Linked DNA regions of Homo sapiens: region 2 is linked to region 1. Evidence: promoter capture Hi-C in 16 types of primary human blood cells and fetal thymus (Javierre and others, 2016). All regions are on one chromosome and are shown on one strand. The core of a region is centred on a gene start or on the middle of the fragment in contact, and the rest is flanking DNA. Distances in the headings are between cores, read along the strand shown. Region 1 holds the start of NDUFS4 (NADH:ubiquinone oxidoreductase subunit S4). Region 2 has its middle 48 kb from the start of LINC02105.

Region 1 (6,438 bases), core at 569-3,068:
TTTAGCTCAGCTAAAACAAAAATAGCAATAATAGAAAATGCTGGTGAGGATATGGAGAAACTGGATCTCTCATACATTGCTGGAGGAAATGTAAAATGTTACAGTTACTCTGGAAAACAGTTTTTAATTTCTTTAAAAAATGACACATACATGTATCACATGACCTGGCAATTGCACTCCTGGGCATTTATCTCAGAGAAATGAAGATTTTTGTCCACATAAAAACCTGTATTCAATTGTTTGCAGCAGTTTTATTTGTAATGGCCCCAAATGGGAAACAATCAAAATGTTCTGCAATAGGTGAATGGTTAAACAAATTGTGGTACATCCATGTCATGGAATATTACTCAGCAATAAAAAAGGAATGAACTATTGATAAACACAACAACTTGGATGGGTCTCAAGTGCATTATGCCAAGTGAAAGAAGCCAATCTTAGAAGGTCATGTACTGCATGAGTCCATTCATATAACATCTCAAAATGTCAAAATTATAAAAACAGAAACAGAGATCACTAGGGTTAGGAGGGCAGGTGTTACCAAAAAGGTTAGCACTAGGGAGATCTTTGTGAGGGTGGAATAGTTCTGTATCTTGATCATGGTGGTGGTTACACAAAATATGTAGTAGAATGACATAGGACTACACAAATACTTTATATCAATGCCAGTTTCCTGGCTTTGATACTGTACTAGAGTTATACGAGATGTAATCACTGGGGGAAACAGGTACACAAGACATCTGTACTATCTTTGCAACTTCATGTGAATCTATAACTATTTCAAAATGAAAAGTTTGAAAGAAAATTTTCTCTGAGGCATCTCTCCCTTGCCTTCCTTCATCTTGTGCATTTCTTTCCCTGAGTATGACTTTTTCTCTTTCTTTCTCCCTTTCCCTTATGTACTGGGTTTTCCTTTAACGGTCCATAATGCCAAACTATGTCATTCCCCATCCTCCTATTGTTCCTATTTATTTAATGAAGGTTATGTTTTCATGTGCTTAATTTTAAAAGCAGGAAAGTACTAACTCTTTAAACAAATTTCTTAAAAAACAAAACCCAAAACTAACCTGCTTTTTATTTTATATAATTCAGTTAGTCATTATTCTTTAAGGTCGGAAGTCCACAATACAAACATGTTTCCAACACTTGTATTGGAAGATAATTTTTGTTTTATATGCATGGAGCATTAATATCATTCTTCATGTCTATGGATTATGAACACACACACATTCAGGATTTACTGGGGAAACAGTGACATCAAATATTATGTTCTATTGATTCTTCATATAAATCTACATGTCAAAAAATAATCCTTTGCCAGATCACGTATCCAGATTTTTCGTTTGGAAAATACGAACATTACTACTACAGAATATCAAACTGAATACAGCCCTGTCCTGAGGGCTTGCAAAGTGAATCTGGCAATACTTTGGAAAAGTACTACTGCAGGTTCTCAAGGACCCAAAGAGCTCTCCAGCTTTTCCAGTGGGTTCAGCCCCAAATATCCTAATTTCTTCAATAAATTACGAGTTGCAGGTGTTTAAATATGCAAGTATATTTTGGTCTTTTCGTTATCATTGTAAAACACCAGTCCTAACAAGCAGTAAAGATTACACTTTATGGTGGTAATATTTACAGTTAATGCACTTCTGCATTTCTTCCCGCACATTTTTCTTCTTACTTATTTAAACTAAGCGTTTCCCCTCTTTTTTTAAGCCCCAGTATTAAAAAGAAAATAAAATCCCAAAGAATTTCGCAACATTGCGATTGCACTGGCTTGAGAACGAAGGAAGTTAGTCCCTTGCGGTGATCCGTCCTTTCATCCTGGCGTTTGCCTGCAGCAAGATGGCGGCGGTGTCAATGTCAGTGGTACTGAGGCAGACGTTGTGGCGGAGAAGGGCAGTGGCTGTAGCTGCCCTTTCCGTTTCCAGGGTTCCGACCAGGTAATAGAATTTTCACACTTTTCTTCAAGCTTCTTGGGTCCCTCCATTTTTGCGGAGTCTCTGCTGGCTGAGTTCCGGAGGAGGCCTCGGGGAAGGCGTCCTCTGTTGACCCTTTTCTCGGGAGAAGTCGGGCGGACTAGGGACTGTCTGCTATCAATGGGCGTTGGCCAGGCGAGTGAGGGCGTGAGTGCGAGGCCGGGGAGGAGGACCTGTGGTTTTCTGGAAGCTTTCGTATTCGGCTTGTCGCTGAGGGAGAGGGTCCGTGGAGGTTTTGCCTCCGGAGCTGCAAGCTGAACCTTAGCCCTCAGAGAAGGGGAGGAGTCTCACTGATTTCTGTTTCCACTTTCTGCATCCCTTCCATTTGTCACCTGTTTGCCCACCACTCCAGTCCTTACAGAAGGGTTAAATCACTGTATCCCTTCCATGGTTTTAAGTGGTTTTAATTTGGTTTCTGCATAGGAAGATTGTTTATTCATCAGTCTGCTTGGGAGGAAAACTTGTTTGGAATTCAGTGTTAGTAAAAATATCACTGCTAGTAATATTGGAAGGTAATTTTTAAAAGGCTGGTGGTAATGCCTGGAGGTTTTCTAGGGATTTTGTTAAAGCCTCACAATAATTCAGGGATTGAATTGAGTTGTTGAGGGCTCTTTGCGTCCTTGAGAACCTAAAGTAGTACTTTTCCAAAGTATTGTCAGATTCAGTTGTCAGTTGATTGAGTTGTTACTGTTTTTCCTTGAAGCATTTTTGTGATGATTTTTTTTTTTTTGGCTGTATTAACCTTCCATTTTCTATTTTTCAGAATTTCCTGGAGTTTTTTAAATTATAGTACTAATGCTATACGTACATACACACACATATTAGAACAAAGATTGGAAAGACTGGATGGAGAGATTTGAAGGGGGTAGGAGGTGGATGCAAGTGGTTAAAAGTTGAAAGGAAGGTCTAGTAGAATGCTAATTGATTTAGTGTTAAATATAAATGGAATGCAGAGAATTAGGATGAGTTAATTCGGAAGAATTTTTAAGGATGAGTTTTATTAAGGTTTAAATATAGTGGGTGTTGGGTGGGAAAGAAGAGAGTGTCCCGTAGGGTCCGTGGCTTATGAAAAGGCTTGAAAGCATTAGTTAAACGATTACTAAATACATAGAATAGAGTCACTCAAAAGTAAGGGTGCTAAGATTGGGGAAAGGCAAATGATGTTTGTAATTAAGTGTTCCATATATGGAAAGTATTTTTCCTTTTTCTTTCTCTTTTTTTTTTTGAGATACATTCTCACTCTGACGCCCAGGCTGTAGTGCAATGGCGTGATCTTGGTTCACTGCAACCTCCGCCTCCCGGGTTCAAGCAGTTCTCCTGCCGCAGCCTCCTGACTAGCTGGGATTACAGGCGCGCACCACCACACCTGGCTAATTTTTGTATTTTTAGTAGAGGCGGGGTTTCACCATGTTGGTCAGGCTGGGTTAAGTATTTTTCTAAGGTAAAATACTTCACTGGTTAACTTAGAGTTAATATAGCGGTGACCAAGATTAGCCCTTCCTCCCGTACAGATTATAGGGATTAATTGTCATTCCCAGATAATAATGTACTCATGGTAGCCCCAGAACTGAAAACAAGTTTGAAGGGACCACTGGTTTATGGCTAATCAAAACATGGCTGTAATTTTAAGTCAAAGCCATTTTGTCAGCAATTATAGTAATTGAAGTTGAGATTAGATTTTTGAAACTCTGATGATAATTGTTACTACATATCCAAACTTAAGAGTTTTTGCCTGCAAATGTAAGAGATTTGAAAATAAATCATTTAATCTTGAAAAAAAATCTTAATGCCAGGGAAGACGTTTTTTAAATACAAATTAACACATTTATTTGTTTTCTGTGCCACATTTTTACCCTAAGAGCTTGTCATGTTCATCCTAATTTGAGGGAAATTTATAGACCCTCTCCCTTACATATTGTTTGTTCTTCATCCTTAAGCATTCTTTTTCCATTATGATTTGATAGTAATGAGGATCTGAAAAAGGTGAGTAGAAAGAACCAATTAATGGGAAAATCTACATCTAAAATTCATTTTATTGTAATGCTTAGAAAAACATTTGCAAATCATGTAACATTTCAGATCATTTGAATAGAATATGGGAAGTGGAATCAGTAAGGTAAGGAGTGGAGTAGGGAACTGAAGGAAAGGAAGGGCCGGGCGCGGTGGCTCACACCTGTAATCCCAGCACTTTGGGAGGCCGAGGCGGGCAGATCACAAGGTCAGGAGATCGAGACCATCCTGGCCAACACGGTGAAACCCCGTCTCTACTAAAAATACAAAAAATTAGCCAGGCGTGGCAGCGTGCGCCTGTAGTCCCAGCTACTCAGGAGGCTGAGGCAGGAGGATGGCGTGAACCCGGGAGGCAGAGCTTGCAGTGAGTCAAGATCGCGCCACTGCACTCCAGCCTGGGCAACAGAGCCAGACTGTGTCTCAAAAAAACAAAAAAAAAAAAAAAAAAGAAAAGGAAGGATGCTGTTAGCTGCTACATTAACATATTAATTCAATTATAGTATATCATCAGTGAAAAGCAAAACAAAGAATGCAACAACACATACACACAAGAGAGAAAAAATCTAGTAATGTGGGTGATTGAGCTGATCTAGTTACTTACTGAGCTTGTGCTGTAGTGTTGGTCTCAGTTTCCATGTGCTTCTCATTTCCCTGTACCGAATGTGAGGAGGCAAAAAAAGGGGTTAAATTGTCTACATTTTTTTTTTTTTTGGAGATGTAGTTTCGCTCTTGTCACCCATTCTAGAGTGCAGTGGCACAATCTCAGTTCACTGCAACCTCTGCCTCCCGGGTTCAAGCGATTCTCCCGCCCCAGCCTCCAGAGTAGCTGGGATTACAGGTGCCCACCACCTCGCCCAGCTAATTTTTTTATTTTTAGTAGAGATGGAGTTTCACCGTGTTAGCCAGGCTGGTCTCAAACTCCTACCCACAGGTGATCCACCCGCCCCGGCCTCCCAAAGTGCTGGGATGACAGGCGGGAGCCACCGCGCCCATCCCTAAGTTGTCTACATTTATCCTTACTTTCCCTGACTTTCCTAAGAGATTTTCCAGGGTAAATTTAACTATTCTAAATGCATTTATCAGCCAGATGAAATGGCACTCTATTTCAAAATAGCTATACTTAAGATATTTGATGCAGTGATGTTTTTATTCACTTATTTAAGTGTGTTCATGTATACTTATCTCACCTTAGTATTTACTAGGTCTTGTGTTTTCCTCAAACAAGTCCTTAGGGTGTTAAATCACCCAGAGGGTTTTAATTAATGACTGGTGGGGACTGAGTGTTTGGGACCTGTTTGTGAGGTCTCTTTTATGCCCTGATCTGTGGCTTTATTCTGTTGCTGTGTTTGGTTCTTCAGCATTATATAAGCTAGCATGAAATTGAGTCTTCAATTCGATGGGGAATTGAATTTGAACCCTCCAAATAGTAAGCAGTCCTTAAGGTTGACAAGAATTCTGTTTGTTAACACCTTGCTGGGAAATAGGCTAAGCTCAAATTTAGGACACTTAAGACCAATAGGTTCACTTCTACTTCAGATAAACTAAATAAATTCCTCTCCTAGGGGCAGCTATTTTTGCTATCTTTGTAACACATCCAAGCCAAAGTTTGAGAGCTTGAAAGATTTCTAATATGTTTTCTGATAGGTTTATTTGTTTTGTTTCTTTTCCTCTTTCCAAATGCCCATACTTAGTTTTCATCAGTAGCAGACATCTTCGTTGAATTTTTGTTAGGAAAATAATTATTATATTTTGAGACAGAGTCTCATTCTGTTGCTCAGGCTGGAGTGCAGTGGCGCAATCTTGGCTCATGCAACCTCCACCCTCTGGGCTCAGGTGATCCTCCTGCCTTAGTCTTCACAGGCAGCTGGGACTGTAGGTGTGCTTGCCACCACGCCCAGCTAATTTTTGTATTTTCAGTACAGACGGGGTTTCACACTGGTCTTGAACACCTGACCCCAAGTGATCCGTGTGCCTTGGCCTCCCAAAGTGTTAGGATTACAGGCATGAGCCACCGTATCCAGCCGGAAAATTAAATATTTTAATATGTAATGTCGGCATATAGTAAGCCTTCCCTAGATAAATGGTAATTTTATTATTGGTTTGAATGGCCTGAATGTTTTTCATTTCTTTAATCTTGGTTGTAAGTATTGTGATAGATTGTGTTATTGTTTAAAGTATTCACTACCACTGTCTGCAACAGGATTACATATCCAAAAACCACTGGCCAAATGACTTGCTTTATCCAGTGAAATGTTAGTGGAAATGATATACCATGTCAAACAGGAGCTTTGAGAGCTCTCCTGTGTTTTGTCATATTCCTTTTCCCTCTGATGTGAGGTAGGTGTACTCCAGGTGGGGTCTGCTGTTTTAGCCCACATCTTGGATTGTAGACTACATAGTGCAAAGCAGAAACTGATTCTTATTGCAAGATTTTATAAAATATAAATTGAGT
Region 2 (7,333 bases), core at 3,721-6,220, 310 kb after region 1:
CTCCACCCTCCGTGTTCAAGTGATTCTCCTGCCTCAGCCTCCTTAGTAGCAGGGATTATGGATGCCTGCCGCTGTGCCCGGCTAATTTTTGTATTTTTAGTAGAGATGGGGTTTCACCATGTTGGCCAGGCTGGTCTTGAACTCCTGACCTTGTGATCCACCCTCCTTGGCCTCCCAAAGTGCTGGGATTACAGGTGTGAGCCACCGCCCCCAGCCTACAAATATAGCTGTTTTTTTGTTTTTGTTTTTGTTTTTTTTGAGACAGAGTCTCGCTCTATCACCCAGGCTGGAGTGCAGTGGCGCGATCTCGGCTTACTGCAACCTCCATCTCCCGGGTTCACACCATTCTCCTGCCTCAGCCTCCCTAGTAGCTGGGACTACAGGCGCCCACCACCGTGCCCAGCTAATTGTTTGTATTTCTAGTAGAGAAGGGGTTTCACCGTGTTAGCCAGGATGGTCTCAATCTCCTGACCTCATGATCCACCCTCCTCAGCCTCCCAAAGTGCTGGGATTACAGGTGTGAGCCACCACGCCAGGCACAAATATAGTTTTTAATTTACTGTCAATCTGAGAAAAAGGCTGGGACAAGATAATCCTCCTCAAATAAAATAGCCACTGGCCTCATCAAATTCTGTGTTGTGGGCCTTGCATCAGTCTTCAAATGTAACTTCTTTTTCTTTTTTCTTTTTTTTTTTAAGATGGAGTTTTGCTCTTGTTGCCCAGGCTGGAGTGCAACGGCACTATCTTGGCTCACCACAACCTCCACCTCCCGGATTCAAGTGATTCTCCTGCCTCAGCCTCCTGAGTAGCTGGGATTACAGGCGTGTGCCACCACGCCTGGCTAATTTTGTATTTTTGGTAGAGACGGGATTTCTCCATGTTGGTCAGGCTGGTCTTGAACTCCTGACCTCAGGTGATCCACCCACCTTGGCCTCCCAAAGTGCTGGGATTACAGGCGTGAGCCACCGCGCCTGGCCCAAATGTAACTTCTAAACATCCAAGCTTCTATAGGTTCATTAATGACCAGTCTTATGAACCTTGTACTGAACTAGAAGCAAAAAAAGGATTTCCATTATACTGTTACAAATGGCTGTAAATATGGAGGACCCATTATGTGGCAAGTATTATGCTGTGGCTCTACATATGTGGTCTTTGCTCTCACCATATTCCTACAGAGTGAGTATTACTCCAGTTTTCCAGATGAGGAAACCAAAGTGTCTAGAGGTTCAATAATTTGCTTACATACCAAATAATGGAGCATATTTTAAACGAAGGCTGTAATGTATATGTTCTCCTTCTTGTTAAAGAAGGTCCCCATCCTGCTGAAGAAGAAAACCTGAAACTTCTTTTACTACCTTTATCTGCCAGGAAGATGGAAGGCTAAAGAGCACTTTCTCTTGCTTAGATTTTGATCATCACTGATTTCCTCCCTGGAGTAGAAGAGTCGTTATACTCTGAAATTTGTATATGCACGATGTGGATATAGGGAGTATAAAATATATCTACTGTGTAAAGGACATGGGTGCCTTGTTTTTTGTGCTTAGGATGACATTTGATTAAACAGGTGAAATGCAACCATTTTCATATATGAAACAGCATCCCCCTTTAAGAAAACAGCCTTCTCTGAAGCTTCTCTTACAGCTCTCCTTGGATTAGTTTTATTCTGACTTGACAGGAGCTACTAGCTACACACTCAGTGGGTAGGGATGAGAGCCCCAGACCCCAGTCCTGAGTACTAGAGTATGCTGAGGATTATACAGTCTCCTTGAGGTGGGAGTGAACTGAGAACTCTACAGAAGAAAATAGCTTTTCCTTCTGGCTAATAGATGAAAAGAGTCACCCCATCACATCAAAGGTACCCATGTTCATCTGCCTACAGTGAGGCTGTGGCCATCCATCTGCAATGTCACCAACTTGGCAGCCCAGCCAGCCACATCTGGAAAAGTTAAGTGAGCTGCAGAATTAACACATGTTGGGGAATGTCCTCAGCACAGTGTATTGACAACAGGCTAACACAATTTCTCCCTCTATTTGCATCAAACCTAATAAGTTACTTAAAAGTTAAAGATTCAAGAGTTAGACAAGTTATTGAAGAGACTCTGTATGTACTATAGCCAACAGCGATTCTTTGAAAAGTAAGACATGGCAGGCCCAGAAGGATTAATGAAATCCACAGAAAGGGTGACCAGTTCATGGGAAGCCAGGAAGGGATCTATGAAAAACAGGTGTGTGCACTCCAAGAGGACAGAGGCTTTAGGTATCCCTCTTGGTCTGCACCTAACACACCGCACAACTCTCCATCTATCTTATCATAGTTTGAAATCCTTCTAGAGAACTGGGCATGTGCACTCTCTGAATGACAGCACATGTACCCTAAAAAGTTATCACAGCTCCTCTCATCACCCTGCATGGTTTCAGTTTTCTATGTCTAAATTCCCAGCAAACCCCTCAAATCAGGATCCATGCTTTAAGGCTTTATATATGTATTTGTTTTTGTAGATTTGACAGTCTTGAGCATGGTGCCTCATGGAAGACACCATGTAGCAAGCTCCTCTTGTTCTAATTTGGTATCAGATATGACAGGCCGGCACAAGGGCAATGGAAGTGGAAAGTTAATCCGGCAGTAGCTCTAATCTTGCTCTTCTATAAGCTCCTCAGCTAAGGGAAGGATTCTCTTTCATTCTAAAGCCTTCTTAAATGTTGTTCTTTCTGTTCATCCATCCATAGGCACTTTCTATTGATTTAAAAAGATAAGTTTTCTCCATGGAGCCCAATAGTTCACAGCACCCACTTCCTGATATGTCCTCTTGGGGAATTTTGGAAAAGAAAAGGAAGTTTATGGCTGGTGAAGGGGTGTGCAAAAGAAATTCCTTTGCCTCTCTAAAAAGTCTTCTGACTGCAGGGGCAGCTCCACGGTGCATTTAGCTCTCAGGTTCCTCTTCGATCCTTGCTCAATCTCTGATTTCCCCGTGCTCTTTCCCACTGCTCTGTGTTTCTTTTCAGGAAAGAGTCATTTGGAGAACCTTTGCCATGGTCTACTTCACCCTCCACAGGGAATTGGTAAGGCAAGGAACTTTGGCAGAGGTAAGAGTTCAATTTAGGGATTGGCTATTTACTCCAATTCAAGAAAGAGAGGCATGGTAAAAAAACAAAACAAAATAAAACAAAAACCAGTAAGACAAGACTTTCCCTTTTTCACACATGGACTGAGAGAAGATTCTTTCTAGGAAAGCTCAATTTGATCAACTTTCTTTTTCTAAGGAATTGTGGTTGAATTTAGCTACCTAATGGGAGGAATGACTGAACAAAGGCTAAGTGAGGCCCATGTGAGTGGTTAAGTGGCAGAAGTAGAATTCAACTCTAGATCTCCTAATCCAGTTCCCCAGTAGTTTTGCATTGTTTGGCGTGGCCAATGGGCTGTGTGTATGTTTCCCTAGGGCCATACTGTGGGAGCTGAAATAGATGAGCTCGGCCGGGAGTGGTGGCTCATGCCTGTAATCCTAGCACTTTGGGAGACCGAGGCGGGCGGATCACCTGAGGTCAGGAGTTCAAGACCAGCCTGGCCAACATGGTGAAACCCCGTCTCTACTAAAAATACAAAAAATTAGTCGGGCATGGTGGTGTGCACCTGTAATCTCAGCTGCTCGGGAGGCTGAGACAGGAGAATCACTTGAACCCAGGAGGCCGAGGTTGCAGTGAGCCGAGATTGCGCCACTGCACTCCAGCCTGGGTGACAGAGCAAGGGAGAGTCTGTCTCAAAAAAAAAAAAAGCTGAGCTCATGGAGGTCTGAGTAGCTCTCCTTTGTATACCTACATTTAATCTAAGGACGTGATTTTATTTGAAGAAAGAGTTTCATAGTGAAAGAAAGATTGCCTTGTCTATGCCGTGTGACCTCCAATTTTAGGAAGATTCTACTAAGATAAACTCTGGAAGCCATTCTCAGGTAGGTCTGTGTGCACTCATATCTTTACTAGTATCACTTGTATCAGACTTGGTCTGGTCCTTTTTGTCCAAAAAGCCATATTGGAATAAAAAGCATTTACCTTTGGGCCATTGATTCACATACATGTGAATCAATGTCCCCCTGAATGACTGAAGATGTTCTAATTTGTCATTTTGCCATTTCTGACAATCACTGCTGAGATTTTAATATTTATTCTCTGTAAGAATGGCAGTATGGTTCTGAGTGTGGGCTTTGGTCAGAAACCCTGGGTTTGCAGCTGGCTCTACCACTTACTATGTCACCTTAGGCAACTTAAAAAACAAATCAAAACAACAAAACAGAATAATATTTTGTAAAAAACGCTTTCTGTCATATAGGGCTGAAGATGAAGTGAGCTAATATATTTAAAGCACAGAGCAAGTGCTCCATATGTATTTGCTGTTATTACTATTGTTGTTGTCATTATTATTTGAGGGACCCATGCAGAGGCCCTGCATAATGTCTGGCATCAAGTTCTGAAATGGGCTCAGCCTCATCATCCAAAAGCTCTAAATTCTTGGCTTGGGCCAGTAAGTTGTTGCTGTCATAGGTAATGATGTTTAGAACAGAGTTGTACCCACAATAGCGTAAGCCTGGTGGACTCAGTATATGAGTAATTCACCTCTGGAAAGGAGTAAGCTGGCAACCAGCTCCCACTTCCCCAAAGTGGTGGTGGAGCTAACAATGGCAGCCAGAAGCACTGTTCTCTCACCAGCAGGCAAGTGCAGTCTTTCGATCTGCTGTAGTTGGCTCAGCTAAAACTCACACTTCCAATTTTCACACTATCTGTAAACGTTTAATTCGAAAGGCTTTCCTATTTAATATCAAACAAGTGAAAAAAATCTCATCAGCTCATCAGTGCTGTGCCAGACTTTCATTGGGATATGGAGGCAACTGGAACTCAGCTGTGCAGAGACCTCAGTAGGATTTCTCAAATGGCTGAGTGGAGAGCAATCCATCAGCTTACTGAAATCTCACATGCCATTTGGTTTAAATATTAAGGTTCCTTTGAGGTTAAGTATTAGAACCAGAAGGAAGGCAGGATTACAATCCGTTAGGCTGGGCTCCACATGCTGCAATTGTCACAAATATACCTCTTTTCAGCAAGAGGGGTCACTGCCAGCCCCAAATCACCCCAACTTCCTTTACCAATCAGGCCTGGACTTCCACATCCCCATCAACCTGTCCCTGAGGCTGCTCAACCCACAGTCCAGACTGACAGACAGTCCAATAGAAATATAATGTGAGCCACCAATGGGAGGCACATGTCATTCTAAATTTTCTAGTAGCCACAGTGCAAAAAAGTAAAAAGAAACAGGTGAAATAAATTTTAATAATATATTTTATTTAATCCAACATATCCAAAATAGCTCCATTTTATATTATCAATATAAAAATTAAAAATGAGATATTTCACTTTTTTTGTGCTAAGTCTTTGCAATCTGGTGTGTGTTTTATATACACACACACCTCTGTTGGGGCTAGCCACCTTTCCAGTGTTTAATAGCTACTGTATTGGACAGAGCAGGGCTAGGCTATAGACTAGATTAATTCCACACATTGCACTACATCTTGAAGCAGCAGGCCAGTGGTGAAAACACCCAGCTGAGTCTGAGGAAGGGTCTTGAGAGGCTGAGAAGAATTGAGAGGACCCTGTGAAACAGAATCTGTCACCACAGCTCCTTTTGAAGTGCATTTGGGTTTGCAATAACTTTTATAAACATCATTGCTCCTCTCCCCTTTGTTTCACAGTTTGGGGACCCTATTTATCTCTGACGGACAAGAGTATTATTTTCTCAGCTGCAAATCATGTTAATTGGCCAGTAGATAGATAGGAATGTGGAGTAAACACCCCTAATACCTTTGATGACTTTTCCAGCCCCATACTGTAGATACTGTATTGAAGTGGGAGAATAGCCCCCTATTCCTGCTTAGGATGACAAGCCCCTGTCTACTGCAAGGAGGTGGTGGGGTCATGAATGCATTCTAATGTGAATGCATTTCACAATTTGGAGAATCCCTTGTTCTTTGCTTTTATTTGACACTCAGATAACTTGGATGATTTGGCCAGAGTAACTGTGAAAATGCAAGTTATCAGGAGTCTTTGAGACAAGATAAGGATGGAAGGTTGTTGTAGTGCATAGTGGCATTTGGTTAAAGCATTAATTTCTTTTCAGGAGAGTCACTCTGCCAGTTGCCTTTCCTTCCATAACACCGCCAGTCTTTCAGCTCTCAGGTCACTGGGGGCCTGATCAATTCCAAGGGATGATAAAAGGTCTTTCTTTTCCAAAGTGGGAGAAGACGGGTTGTGAAGAAGAAGGAAAGGCGAAGGGGAAAAACGCCAACCTAATCTCTGGCAGACCAATTGTAGGAACAAATATCTATGTGAGTTGAAGATATAGCAATTGGTTTCCATAAAACTATCCTGCCTTGTGTCCACTGGAACATCTTCCTACAACACAAGGGTAGGTATAACATAGTTTCATATCTGTTGGCTTAGAGCATACCATAATCTTCTCCATTGAGTCATAAACTGTTTTTCTTCAGAGTCCTCAGTATGACCCTGTTCCTCTTCCTCAGATCCAAATCCTCATTCCAGTTCCAGAAGGACTTTTCCAAAGGGCAACACAGCAGTGTGGCACACAGAGCCCCAAAACTACAGAAGACCTGCATACTCCAACTCCCGGGCAATGCTCAACCACAACTTCAGGAAGAACACAGCTGTTACGGGTTGAGTTTATTAGCACCTAGAAAAAACAAATTTCCCTATTCTGAATTCTCCTTCATCATTGTCCACCCTCTTCTGCCCTCTGCTGCCCACAAACAATTAAAAAGTGATGGTCAGAATTGCCTGGGGAGTTTGTTAAAATACAGACTCCTAGGCCTCCCATTCACAGAGATTCTGATTCAGTAGATCTAGGAGCATGGCCCAGGAATCTGCACTGTAAGAGTATTCCAGGCTCTCTTTTTTTGTTGTTTTGCTAGTCGTCTACAGACCACGCCCTTGGAAACCTTGCTGGACGTCTACTGGAGTAATGCTATTTCAATGTCAAGAGTATAATGTCAATATCAATGTGTAGTTTTTTTTCTGAGAATTTAAAAGGTTGTGTTATGATTTCAGGGTTGTGTTGTATTTAAGGAAGTGTACTTACACACCTTCCTGATCCCCAGTAGACATCAAAATCATTAAAAGGACCTATTTTTTTAATTCCCAAAAGTTTCAAAAACCATCTTAGAGGGCAGCCAGACTTCGTCATGGGTTACCAGAGCAAGGTGTCTGCTCATTATTTTGCCCCTTGCTGGGAAGTATCAAAGGGATTGCCATGCCCCTGTGGCCTCCTTCAAGGAGT

The links. The method cuts DNA at HindIII sites, captures the fragments that hold promoters and counts their contacts. A CHiCAGO score of 5 or more calls a contact.
Region 2: a fragment that was not itself captured here is called in contact with the fragment with the promoter of NDUFS4 in region 1 in 1 of 17 cell types (endothelial precursors); the score reaches 5.2 in endothelial precursors.

What each region holds. Positions count from the first base shown.
Region 1 is chr5:53,558,821-53,565,258 of GRCh38, forward strand. NDUFS4 (NADH:ubiquinone oxidoreductase subunit S4) reads left to right here and starts at 1,819. Exons shown (of 5, transcript NM_002495.4): 1 at 1,819-1,940. The coding sequence starts at 1,843. RefSeq lists an enhancer at 1,721-2,220. The HindIII fragment of the contact is 3,063 bases long and covers 1-1,967 here.
Region 2 is chr5:53,864,443-53,871,775 of GRCh38, forward strand. No RefSeq gene overlaps it. Among named protein-coding and RNA genes, the nearest start is that of LINC02105, 48 kb to the left of the region's middle. The HindIII fragment of the contact is 6,686 bases long and covers 1,628-7,333 here.